4 separate regions of the Homo sapiens genome follow, and regions 2, 3 and 4 are each linked to region 1. Evidence: promoter capture Hi-C in 16 types of primary human blood cells and fetal thymus (Javierre and others, 2016). All regions are on one chromosome and are shown on one strand. Each heading gives the region's core, a stretch centred on a gene start or on the middle of the fragment in contact. The rest is flanking DNA. Distances are from core to core; before and after follow the strand shown. Region 1 holds the start of FCRL6 (Fc receptor like 6). Region 2 overlaps KCNJ10 (potassium inwardly rectifying channel subfamily J member 10). Region 3 has its middle 22 kb from the start of LINC01133. Region 4 overlaps LOC124904438 (a long non-coding RNA gene).

Evidence for each region. Contacts are between HindIII fragments. The CHiCAGO score rates a contact against its expected background, and 5 or more counts as called.
Region 2: a fragment that was not itself captured here is called in contact with the fragment with the promoter of FCRL6 in region 1 in 2 of 17 cell types (naive CD4 T cells and megakaryocytes); the score reaches 5.7 in naive CD4 T cells.
Region 3: a contact is called between a fragment that was not itself captured here and the fragment with the promoter of FCRL6 in region 1, in 5 of 17 cell types (naive B cells, total B cells, megakaryocytes and 2 more). The highest score is 10.8, in naive B cells.
Region 4: a contact is called between a fragment that was not itself captured here and the fragment with the promoter of FCRL6 in region 1, in 12 of 17 cell types (naive CD4 T cells, total CD4 T cells, non-activated CD4 T cells and 9 more). The highest score is 16.7, in naive CD4 T cells.

The regions. Positions count from the first base shown.
Region 1 is chr1:159,800,972-159,803,778 of GRCh38, forward strand. It overlaps FCRL6 (Fc receptor like 6), which reads left to right and starts at 1,389. Exons shown (of 10, transcript NM_001004310.3): 1 at 1,389-1,484. The coding sequence starts at 1,454. It overlaps LOC105371464 (a long non-coding RNA gene), which reads right to left. Exons shown (of 3, transcript XR_922195.2): 1 at 1,567-2,807; 2 at 977-1,176. The HindIII fragment of the contact is 5,270 bases long and covers 1-2,807 here.
Region 2 is chr1:160,037,503-160,040,309 of GRCh38, forward strand. KCNJ10 (potassium inwardly rectifying channel subfamily J member 10) reads right to left here. Exons shown (of 2, transcript NM_002241.5): 2 at 1-2,807. Among named protein-coding and RNA genes, the nearest start is that of PIGM, 6.9 kb to the left of the region's middle. The HindIII fragment of the contact is 3,750 bases long and covers 1-2,807 here.
Region 3 is chr1:159,981,541-159,984,347 of GRCh38, forward strand. It overlaps a transcript of SLAMF9 not described here. Among named protein-coding and RNA genes, the nearest start is that of LINC01133, 22 kb to the left of the region's middle. The HindIII fragment of the contact is 1,421 bases long and covers 678-2,098 here.
Region 4 is chr1:159,945,825-159,948,631 of GRCh38, forward strand. It overlaps LOC124904438 (a long non-coding RNA gene), which reads left to right. Exons shown (of 3, transcript XR_007066684.1): 2 at 328-628. Among named protein-coding and RNA genes, the nearest start is that of IGSF9, 1.6 kb to the left of the region's middle. RefSeq lists a silencer at 1-69 and an enhancer at 1-412. The HindIII fragment of the contact is 1,462 bases long and covers 694-2,155 here.

The DNA.
Region 1 (2,807 bases), core at 139-2,638:
GCCAAGATTACACTCCAGCCTGGGCAACAGAGCAAGACTCCTTCTCAATAAAAAAAAGAAAAAAGAAAGAAAAGAAACAAGAAAATGAAAATGCTTCCTAGTATTTTGCCTGACTCTGTGTTTCACCGTGAACTCCCATGTTCTGTCCACAGAGGAGATGAGAATGTGTGACCTCTTTTTCTGTTGAGGGAACATTGAATAATTTCCAGTTTTTATCTATTACAAATGATGCTGCTATGAGCACTCTTGTATATGTTTTTTCAGGCTTATATGTATACATTTCTGTTTGACATTTACCCAGGAGTGAAAATGCTGAGCCATCAGGGATCCCTGTGTTTAGTTTTGGTAGATTCTGCCAAGCCATTTTCTAGTGACTGTACCAATTTATATTCCCACTAGTGGTGTACAAGAGTTCTAGTTTCTTCACATCCTCACCAATACTCAGTAGAGGATTGCATGGGGAGGGTCACGGGCTCCCCCAGACCCAGCTCAGTCTCAGCTGGTATCACTCCCTTATTCTTATGGAAGGTGTAGTGGTATCTTATTATGGTTTAAATTTGCATTTCCACGGTGATTTATGATGTCTAGCTCCTTTTGCTATGTTGATTTGACACGTGGATATCTGCTTCTGTGAAGTACCTATCCAATTATTTTTGCCCATTTTTCTAGTATGTTGTCTGTCCTTTTCTTACTGACTTGCAGAAATTCTTATATTTCTTCTGTGGGCCCTTTGTCAGCTACATGTATTTAAACTATCTCATCACACCACAGCTTGCCTGTTCCTTCTCTTAATGGTGTCTTTTAAGGAATAGTTCTCAAAATCATACTGACAGTCTTAAAAGCCTCAGATGCCGAAGCTCCATCTGTGTTCTACTCCAGACTCATCGATGTCTGATTCCCTCCTGAACTGAGGATCCTGTGAAGCATCCTCAGGGCTCCACTTCTCCATCGCATTGCAGCATCCACACACATTTACCTCTGGAGACAGGAGCTCCTTGGAAGCTGGGAGGTCACTCGGTGGTCAAGGGGTAGATGATCTTAGTTTTACAGTGCTGCGCTGTCTCCCAGGCTGAATGACGCTGAAGCCAAGCAAATTCGGGCAGTCTCTGGACCTTTCTAATGGAGGTGTCCCATAACCATGTTCCATCCTAGTTCCCTGGCATAGGCTTGTTGAAGCTGCAGAAAATGTCAGGGATTTATTAGTGATTTACCGACTCCTTCATACTTAGTGTTCAGGAAAATTTATTCATGTAATACTTCTTCAACCAAAGAGGAAATATCAATTAGAGCTTTGTAAGTTTCTTTTCCACTTCCTATTTTGGCTATCAAGCTATAGCACCACCCAGCTCAGGCCACCCACCCACCTTCGGTCCTGAGGCCTGGTTGCTCTCTGCCGGCTTCGCCCTGACCTGTTTCTGACCTGTGTTCCCTCCGCTGTGCCAGAACAGGCCCCATGCTGCTCTGGACGGCTGTGCTGCTCTTTGGTAAGTCAACGAGCATGGGCATCCCCTCTTGGAGCACTAAGGACCGTAAGTCATCCCTGAGACACCAAGTTCCTCATCTTACCTTTCCCAATTCCAGTGGGTTTGTGGCTGGAGCTCAAGACAGGTGTGTGCACCTGGGCATGCTTGGGAGAGATGGGCACTGGGGTAGGAGAAACTCCTCAGTGTTTCCTACCCCGTAGTCCTGGGTCCTTGGCAGCGCAGCCCTTTGATATGTCAGAGATAAATTAGGGAGGCAGAAAATCACATTACAAAGTCCCCTAACTTCCCAATGACATTTCTACCTTGTGACATCAGGTTAAAATACTAATCAGAGCTGTCTCAAAAGGAAATGGAGGTTGCAGGAGGGAAGGAGGCTGCTGGGGGCAACAGGGAAGGAGTCAGGGAAATGAGGGGAAACAGTCCCAGGCATTTTGCTCAGCAATGGGAGGTGGAATTTTACAGGGTGACATATTTTTATGGAGCCTCAGCATTTTCTTAGAACCAGGTAACAATGGCCAGACCTCTCACCTGGTTGAAAGGCCTGTGCTCTGAGTAACCAAAGCCCTTTTCAAATTGACTGTCTCTCTTCCGCCTACATCTTCTCTCTGTTGGGAGCTGTTTCAGATCCATGGGGCTGGTTTGAAGAATCAACTCCATTGTCTGATCCATGTCTCTCTCTCTCTTCTCTCCATTTCTTCTCATGCAGGCTACTTGTAACTAAGAGAGCTGGTCTAAGGGTAGAGGATTGCACGCAGAGGGTCACTGGGCTCCCCCAGACCCAGCTCAGTCTCAGCCAGTGTCACCCCCCTTATACCTAAAAGAAATAATTTGGCATATATTTTGTTTCACTTTACAGTTTCCAAGTGGACCTACTTTTTGTTTAATTCTTGGTCCCAATAGCTTGCTTGCTATTTGTATTCCTTGAACTAGAAAAGCAAAACTGTTCCTAAATATAACCTCTTCCTGGACAGAGTTTGTGAGAATTTGACCCTGTGAGGAAAATGCCCCTTCCACTCAATGTTCCTTCTCCAGCATAGCATGCTACTCGTGTGTTCTATGAATGGCCATTTGGACAAATGAAAAGGTCTAATGCTCACACTGAGGCGGGGACAGGATAGCCTAATGCCTGGATATACTCCAGGCAGAAGACTCCCAGGGGCAAATGGCACTACCGGCACTACCTTGTAAAAGGAACAGCCCTTGGACTTGTCTAGATACAGTCTGAGAGTGTTCCAGCTTGGAACCCAGGACGAGGATGACAGACAGCAAATGAGGAGAGGAAGGGAATCAGTGACCGGCTGACTGGTGCACAGTGTAATGGAG
Region 2 (2,807 bases), core at 218-2,717, 240 kb after region 1:
TATTTTTAACAGACAAAAACAAAACAAATCTTACACACCTTTTTTTTCCTAGATAAATTTGACCTGGTTTAGTCTTTAGTGCAATGAATGGAAAAAACATCCCTAAATACTTCTGCATCAGTAGAGTTGGCCATTACTGAGCCTGGAGACCCATGCTAACTTTCCAGCAAAGGTAGTGTGTTACTGTACAAGTGAACTAGGTTAGCTAGCAAGAATAAAGGACCAGGGCAGCAGCCATGGAGAGGGCACAGTGTCCTGGACTTGTAGCAATAGTATAACTGGCTTTCTTTCTCTGCTCAGACCTTATAGGGAAACTACTGGATGATTTTATTAGGCTGACAGGGGTTGGGGGAATAATGGGGTGAAGCACATTGCAGAGATTTCGGAAGCCTCTCATGGAACTTCACCATCCCCTAGAGCAGCTGGTAACCCCACTCCTCATTTTCATTCAGAAGCATCAAAACCAAAGCATCACCCTCCATGCCCAAATGCCAGGATTGGAACTCTTCTGGAATCCATGGCTTTCTCTTTGGGCTGCTTGCAGCCACACAAAAGGCTGGGCCTTGACCTTGGGAGATCTTCAGCCTAACAGCTATTAGTCCTGGCATTTGGATTCCAGGGTTGAGGCTTCCCATTAGTGCCTCCCATACACCAAAGTGTTCAGCTCCTGAGTTTGATTTCAGGGGCTAGAGCAATAGCAGCTCCCACCCCTGTGGAAGACGGAAATACAGTGTACTTCATGAAAGGGAAACAAAATGGTGCTTTATTTTATTTTATTTATTTTAAAAAGGCGCTACAGTGGCAGGACGCTGCTGGGGATGGGGACACACAGTGTAAGTGGTAGATTTTCCAAGACTTCCCCTCCCTATTGTCCTCCGAGTTCCTCTCTTCCTGGTCCTATCAGTAGCATAGGATTCAACAAAAGCCTTCATGAATGCCTCTTTATTTCTGAAAAGGAACTTCTACCCCTCCCTTTCCCATTTCCAGACTTGAAATCCTTCATCAGCTATCTCACTTCCATGTTGAAACCAGGACCACTGATTGTAAGTCTGAAAATCTGGGTGTCCTACCCCATAACCAGGCCAAGATATCTGCCCCCAATGCTAAAGTCTCTGAATATTTCCTTTCTGTACATTCAATATATTTGGGCATATATACATCTATATACATCTTTCTATATATATATTATCTCTGTTTCTTTCTTCTTAGATAAACCTTTCATATATGTCATATCCTAATTTCCCAAGCCTCCCCACTTCTTGTTTGCGAGCCTAAGCAAGACTCAAGAGTTTCATTGATTTCACTAGGTCCCTCAGCATCATTTCTTTCTCATCTTCTCACCCCAGGTATCTTCCCCCATCAGTTGTTTCGCCCGTCTTCTGAAATCTCCCCTTTTTACACCTGTGCCTACCGAAATCTCCCCTTTTTACAACTGTGCCTACTACTCTGCTGATATTCCAAGTCCACAGTTGGTATGGGGGCCCATTTCTCACCAGACCTGGCTGCTTCTAAAGCTCGGCCTATTGCCTAAAAGAGGATTTCAGGTCAGAGGAGACAGACTATAGTCTAAAGAACCATTTAGAGTTAAGGTAGGGGGTAGTTGTTCCCTGTAGGGGGCTTGTGGGAGAAGATGCCAGATCGCATTAATAGGACAGTGTGATTTAAAGTGCAACTTAAAGCAAAGCCTGGGTAATAATGGAGGAGATTCCAAAAGGGTAAGTCAGAAAATGTTTTCTTCTCACTGTTTCATCCAAGAGTCTAGAGGCTTGAGTCTGGGGGCTTAGAATAGACAGCAGGGGAATGGGAAGAAAGCATAGCATGGCCAAATAAACCAGATGGAGGTTAACTTGGCAATGGATAGGAAGGTATAGACACACACACACACACACACACACACACACACACACACACACACACACACAGCAGTACATCTTGTCCCTACACACTGAAAGAAATAAGGTAAGTCTAATGTTGAATAAAGTTGAGAACGCAGAAGCTGGCTCTTGGCCTTCTGTTCTCTGTTTCAGATTTTTCAAGTTTTTGTGGTTCTTGTTTTTATGCCAACTAGAAGGTAATGGTGGGGTTTACTGTAGATGGACACCGAAGGGTCTTTGTTTTCAAGATATAGTTAGTTGAGTTCGAGGAGAGATCAATATAACAAGACCTTGTGCAATTATAGTTGGTGGTGATCATGGGTCTAGCCTCAAAATTTTGTGTTTCTCTGCAAGGCTCTGTACATAGATGCATGTATATATTCTGTAGCTTGTAACAATTGGCTGAGACCACCTTAAACTGCAACTTGACTTATAGTGGGACTATGCAGTACCACTATGTGAGGCTTCCTTGGTACCAAAGTGAGACCAGAAAGCACTCTAGGGATTTGGGGCTTTGGATAAAGCTCTGGTGCCTATATGCCCTTCCCTGACCCTTACCACAGACCCCACCAGGGAACAAGGAATAGGCTGAGTTTGATCTCTTAAAGTCTACTTTTTAACTTGTCTGAAAATGGCCTCATGGCAGAGGAGAGTAGAGATGACACTGATTTCTTCATTTTATACCAAGTCTCAGGAATGGCTGAGGGAAGCCATGGTTATTTGATCAGAAGGTATAATTTCATTTCCTTCCAGCATTGCCTAATGAAATAGCTGGCACTTTTCAGAAGGGCACTGGGAGGTGTAACTGAGAATAGTGGCTGCCAGCCACAGAGTTCTGCTCCTGCCCAAACCTTAACAAAGCATCACCAATTCTCAGAGGCTCTGTACAGCAGTTTGGAAATCTGAGAATTTACCCATCCCTCATGGTGGGAT
Region 3 (2,807 bases), core at 138-2,637, 180 kb after region 1:
GGGTGCTGGCAAACAAGGCAAGCTCCTCTTTTCCATCTGCTTTCCATTCTCCCGTGACTGGCCTTAGAGCAGACTGTGCTGCTGCAGGCATCTCTGTGCTGTCAGGGAGTGTGCTCAGGTCTCCCTTCAAGAGAACCTGGTGCAAGAAGCCTCCAGCCTCCTGCTGCTATATTTTGGTTGTGTTGGGTGTTCACACTGCCCCATGCTGCTCCCAGCCAATGACTGAGCACAGAGGGTGCCAGAAACAGGGCTAGAAACAGGCCACTGTGCCTGATGTGAGGCCTCGCTAAGAGGCGAGCTCTGTTCTGGGACACTAAGCCTGGCGGGGACATCCTGGAGCTGCACCACAGTTTGAGGATCATCCTACCTGATCCTCTTCCCAGCCTGCTCTCCTTTCCCAGGTGTCTGACCTGCACTGCAGTCTGAAGTCTCTCCTGACCACTCCTTCTGCCCGCTCTTCATCCTTCACAGGTGTGGTGTTTCCCACAATGCCTCTGCAGGTCTAATCTTGTCTTGGCCTCTGCTTCTCAACAAATCTGGCTGCCCCTAGTTGTCCTTCCTTCAATTCATCCTCCACACTGTTAGAGTCCTCCTCCTTTCTAAAGTCCAGATCTGATCTTGTCACGCTCTGCTTCCATTCTTTCCAAGATGTCTGTTTACTTACAAGATAAATTAGAAGCTTATGTCTCTTGAGACTCAGCCTGTGCTCAACTGTCCACTCTCTTATTCCCTACCCAAGGCCCCATCTTGACAGCCACATGGAACTATCTACACTCTAGTCTAAACGTCAATGCCGCTTCACATCAAGGCCTGTGGACATATAACGCCTCCTTTTTGGAACATCTTTCTCCATTCTCATCACCCCTTCCTGCCGCACACTCACTCACTCATACACACACACTTCTCCCAGTGATCTTTAAATTCCTATTAAGATCCATGCAAATGTTCCCTTCTCGATAGAGGTTTCCTGGACACACCCAAGCAGAGGAAATCATGCCTCTCTTTGTGCTATTTTTAGCACTTACTAATATCTCTTATGACATTTATCAAACTGTCCCACAATTCTTTGTCTTTTAGGGAAGCCTTTAGGGTAGGCATAAAGTCATTTCTGTATCTCCAACACTAGCATAGTACATCGTGTAATGTTAAGTATGTCTATATGGGTACATATGCATACACACACATGTGTGTAGGAAACATAACGACATGGCTGGGCGCGGTGGCTCACGCCTGTAATCCCAGCACTCTGGGAGGCTGAGGTGGGAGGATCACGAGGTCAAGAGATGGAGACCATCCTGGACAACATGGTGAAACCCCGTTTCTACTAAAAATACAAAACTTAGCTGGGTGTGGTGGCACGTGCCTGTAGTCCCAACTACTTGGGAGGCTGAGGCAGGAGAATCGCTTGAACCCGGGAGGCAGAGGTTGCAGTGAGCTGAGATTGCACCACTGTACTCCAGCCTGGTGACAGAGTGAGACTCCGTCTCAAAAAAATAAAAAAAGAAAAAAAGAAACATATCAACATTAGAGTTTCTAGCTTATATCCCAATATCTTGGCCATTCATTAGAACCCTGGTTAGGCTCCTCTCTTATCAACTTACCCTCATGACCAGCTTCTGCCTCCTGTTCCCATCAGAGGAGGTTTAAGGCCAATTAGCAACATGTGTCTTTCATCCTTTTCTTTTCTTCTACTGTGGAGGTTCATCACAGCACTTCTATCAGTTCACCAGATGAAAGAGGCATCCATCTGTGCCTCTTCATCTGTTGGTTGTAATGCAGCACATATGATAAGTGGGTATTGAGTGGACCTGGACTGGAGTCACAATCACTGATTATGTGCTGGAAGTCAGAGGGGGACAGGGAAAGTCCCCCTTTCCTAGGAAAAGGGTCCTCAAGTTGCCAAGAAAAGCAAGAGATCAAATTCCCCCGAGGAGTGGATTTCTGACCACTCCTTGGTTTGTTTTTTGTTTTTGTTTTGTTTTGTTTGTTTTTTGCTTGAGTTAATTTAAGTTAGTTTCTATTACTTGCAACTAAGAAGTTTTAATGAATTCACTTGAAATACTATTGTTAGGAAGGAAACAACTTGCTTGAGAGGTCAAGCTTAGGCTGAAAGTCAACATTGGCCAAGGCACTTAGAGAGCAATTAATCCTCGTGGCAAGGCAGGGATGGGGTGGAGGGGATAGATGATTCCTAAGGTCCTTTCTAAGAGGATAAGAGTGCTTCCCCTGGTCAGTGGTTCTGGCTAGTCTCCTCCCTCCCTTCAAAATGCGAAGCAAAAGGCAGGGAGAAGGTCTCCTTGCAGATCTTCAGCTCTCTCAGGGAAAGAGACCCACGTCACTCCCAGCAGAGTCCTGCATGGCAGCAAGGGGCCAGGGCGGAAGAAGAACAAAAGACACCTGGAGAAGAAAGGCAGTGCCTTTCCCTGCAGCAGCCAGGGCTGCAGATATGATGGAGCAGGGGAGATGGTCTCTTCTAGAGCAGCATGAGCCGAGTTACACAGATGATGTAAGGAAGAAGTAGAGAAACTGCAGTCTCAGCTCAGAGTTTTCCTTACATGCTTGTGAAAATAAAGTCACCCTCTGTTGCAGGCTGAATAATGGCCCCCCAGGATGTCCACATTCTAATCCCTGGAACCTGTCCATGTTTTATTATATGGCAAAAGAGACTTTGTAGATGTGATTAAATTAAGGCTCTTGAGATTGGGAGATTATCCTGGATTATCAGAGTAGGCTTGATGTAATCACAAGAGTCCTTCTAAGAGAAAAGCAGGATGCAGCCCCCTGATGACAGAAGCAGAGAGGAAAGC
Region 4 (2,807 bases), core at 175-2,674, 140 kb after region 1:
CCAAGCGTGGAAAGGCCGGTGGGCCGCTTCCCGCCGCCAGCAAGAGGGGCAGCAGGGTCCGGCTCGCGCTCCAGGGCTGCGGGAGCTGGCCCCTTGCCAGGCTACTGGTACGCCGTCCTTCTTTCGGAACCTACGGGCGACCCTCTCCGCTCCCCGAACGGGCGCGCCACAGAGGCGGCAGCGAGGGTTGAAATCTGAGCCTGGGGGTAGGAGAACCAGGCGGGGAGCATGACTCCCCGCCCTCCTCCCAGGGGATCCACCCAGGTCCCGGGCTCATCCGATCTCCTCCCCCATCCCCATTTCTACCTCCACCCATTGCTTCTCTAGCAGGACTGGAAATACCTGTCTGCATTGGCGAGCTCCCAAATCTTGCCCAGGCGCCTCCCACCGTGTGCAGCTGAGGAAGGCTGTGCTCTGAGCGTGGGGTTGCCAAGTCAGCTCCCAAGGCAGCTCTGGCACCAACGACCCAGAGAAACAGGCCCAGAGGGGAGAAACGACAGATATCCTGACACGGGAGATTGAAAGGGAGGAATGAAATACAAGATCACTTACTGGACCCATGCAGGGTGCCAGACCCTGGACTAGATGCTTTATAACTCTTGTGTAACCTTCACAGAAACCCTGCGAAGTAAGTAGAGCTCCCTTTGACTAATGAGAAAACTGAGGCTCAGGGAGATGAAGTAACTTGGCCCAAGCTTTCCCAACTAGGTTATGGCAGAGCTGGATTGAGACCCAACCCAAACTTCATCAAACCTACTCCCTTGGAGGCTTCGCCCTCAGACACAAAGATATCTTGCATATCTTGCCCCTCAGAGATTCCACCTCCTCAGCCTGGTGATGCTGTAGGGATGCTGGGTCGGCTTAAGCAACATTGCCTGTCCAGGTCCTTCCCATTCAGTTGGCTCCCTTGGAAGCCTTCCATGAAAGCAACGTGCTGATCTCATCCCAATCCGAAGTACTAAGACTCAAACTGAGTGCACCAGGCATCAGACTCACAGAATCACTGCTGCAGCATCATGAGAGAACCTCCAGGATGGGCCTAAGCACTACTTGGCCCCAGAATCCCTGGCACATCATTTCTCCATGTAGTCATCCAAGCCCCTATCTCATTACATCCTGGGCCAGGAAGCTCAGCACTACTGTTGTACCCATTCCATCCTTAGTAAGCTCTGCCTGCTGGACAGTTCTTCCAGGTGTAAAGGTTTTAGTGCTTTTGGGTGACTGAGATGGAAGGGAAGAGGCAGGAGCAGTGGGCCAGTCTCTCCCACCATCCCTCCTGCAAATAGTCCCAAAGTAGCAGCTTTTCAACAATGCATTTCAACATAATACCCTGATCTATTGATAAGACTATAATGGAAACATGTTAATGAATGCAGCATGGAAGCAAGGCTAGAAGAAATGGTAAAAGAGTGAAGCGGGTTTTTTGTTTGTTTGTTTTTTTGTTTTGACAGAGTCTCACTCTATCGCCCAGGCTGGAGTGCAGTGGTGCAATCTCGGCTCACTGCAACCTCCACCTCCCGGGTTCAAGCGATTCTCCTGCTTCAGCCTCCCAAGCAGCTGTGATTACAGGCGGCCACCACCATGCCTGGCTAATTTTTGTATTTTTAGTAGAGATGGGGTTTCACCATCTTGACCAGGCTGGTCTTGAACTCCTGACCTCATGATCCACCCACCTCGGCCTCCCAAAATGCTGGGATTACAGGTGTGAGCCACTGCCCCCGGCCGAGCCAAGTGTTTTTTAGTCTTTGGATCTTTACCAATCATTGGGAAGGATCTCCCTCCCCGCTGTTAGAATTGGCCACACCTTTGATCTAAACTGCTGTCTCCAGTGGTTTCTTGAGGATAAACTAATCTCATTTAGACATTAAAATAACTTTCTGTTAAATGACATTTAAAATGGTTTTCAATTTTTAAAAGTTTATGATATGGCCTTTTTTTTCTGGAAACTTATTTTGTGACTTTTATTGTTATTGCCATTTTTTGTCTGATTTATATGTATATTGGAGATTTTTTGTTAAGAAAAGGAACCTAGCCCTATAACTTGTTCCCTCACTGTGCCAGGAGTGAAAGCTGATTTAAAAAATAGTCCCTGAGGTTCAAAACAAAAGACTTTCCTCTAGGTTGTCCTTGATTCATAGTCATTACTCTCTGGGAAAGCTTATTCAACCAACGAGGATTCCACCTAACCTAAGTATCAGGCAGCCCCCATATTTTCAAATTGCTGACAAGGATATCAGAAAATATTCTCTCTCTCCCCCTCCTCCTCCTCCTCCTCTTCTTCCTCCTTCTTCTCCTTCTCCTGCTTTCTTCTTTCCTCTTTCCTCCTCCTCCTCCTTCTCCTCCTCCTCCTCTGCTGCTGCTTTTCCTCCTCCTCCTCCTCCTCCTCCTCCTCCTTCTCCTTCTTCTTCTTTTCTCTCTCTGTCTCTCTCTCTGTCTCTCAGAGCTGGGGTATTCTCCTCCTCTTGCCTTTGAACATCAAAACTCCAGGCTCTCCAGACTTGGGACTGTGAGTTATACCATTGGCCTCCCTGGTTGTGAGGCTTTTGGAGTTGGACTGAGCCACACTTTTGCCATCCCAGGGCCTTCTTTGTGCATGTTGTAGGACTTGGCCTCCACCATCATGTAAGCCAATTCCCCTAATAAATCCCATCTCATATTTCTATATCTGTATCTATCTATCTTATTGGTTCTGTCTTCCTGGTGTATACCTAATATTTCAGCAGGCCTTGGGAAGAAAGGACCTGAGCTGCTCCATAGCCCTGCACAAAGAAGATGGTGTGACCTCAGAGATGTCTGCTTGGCATCGT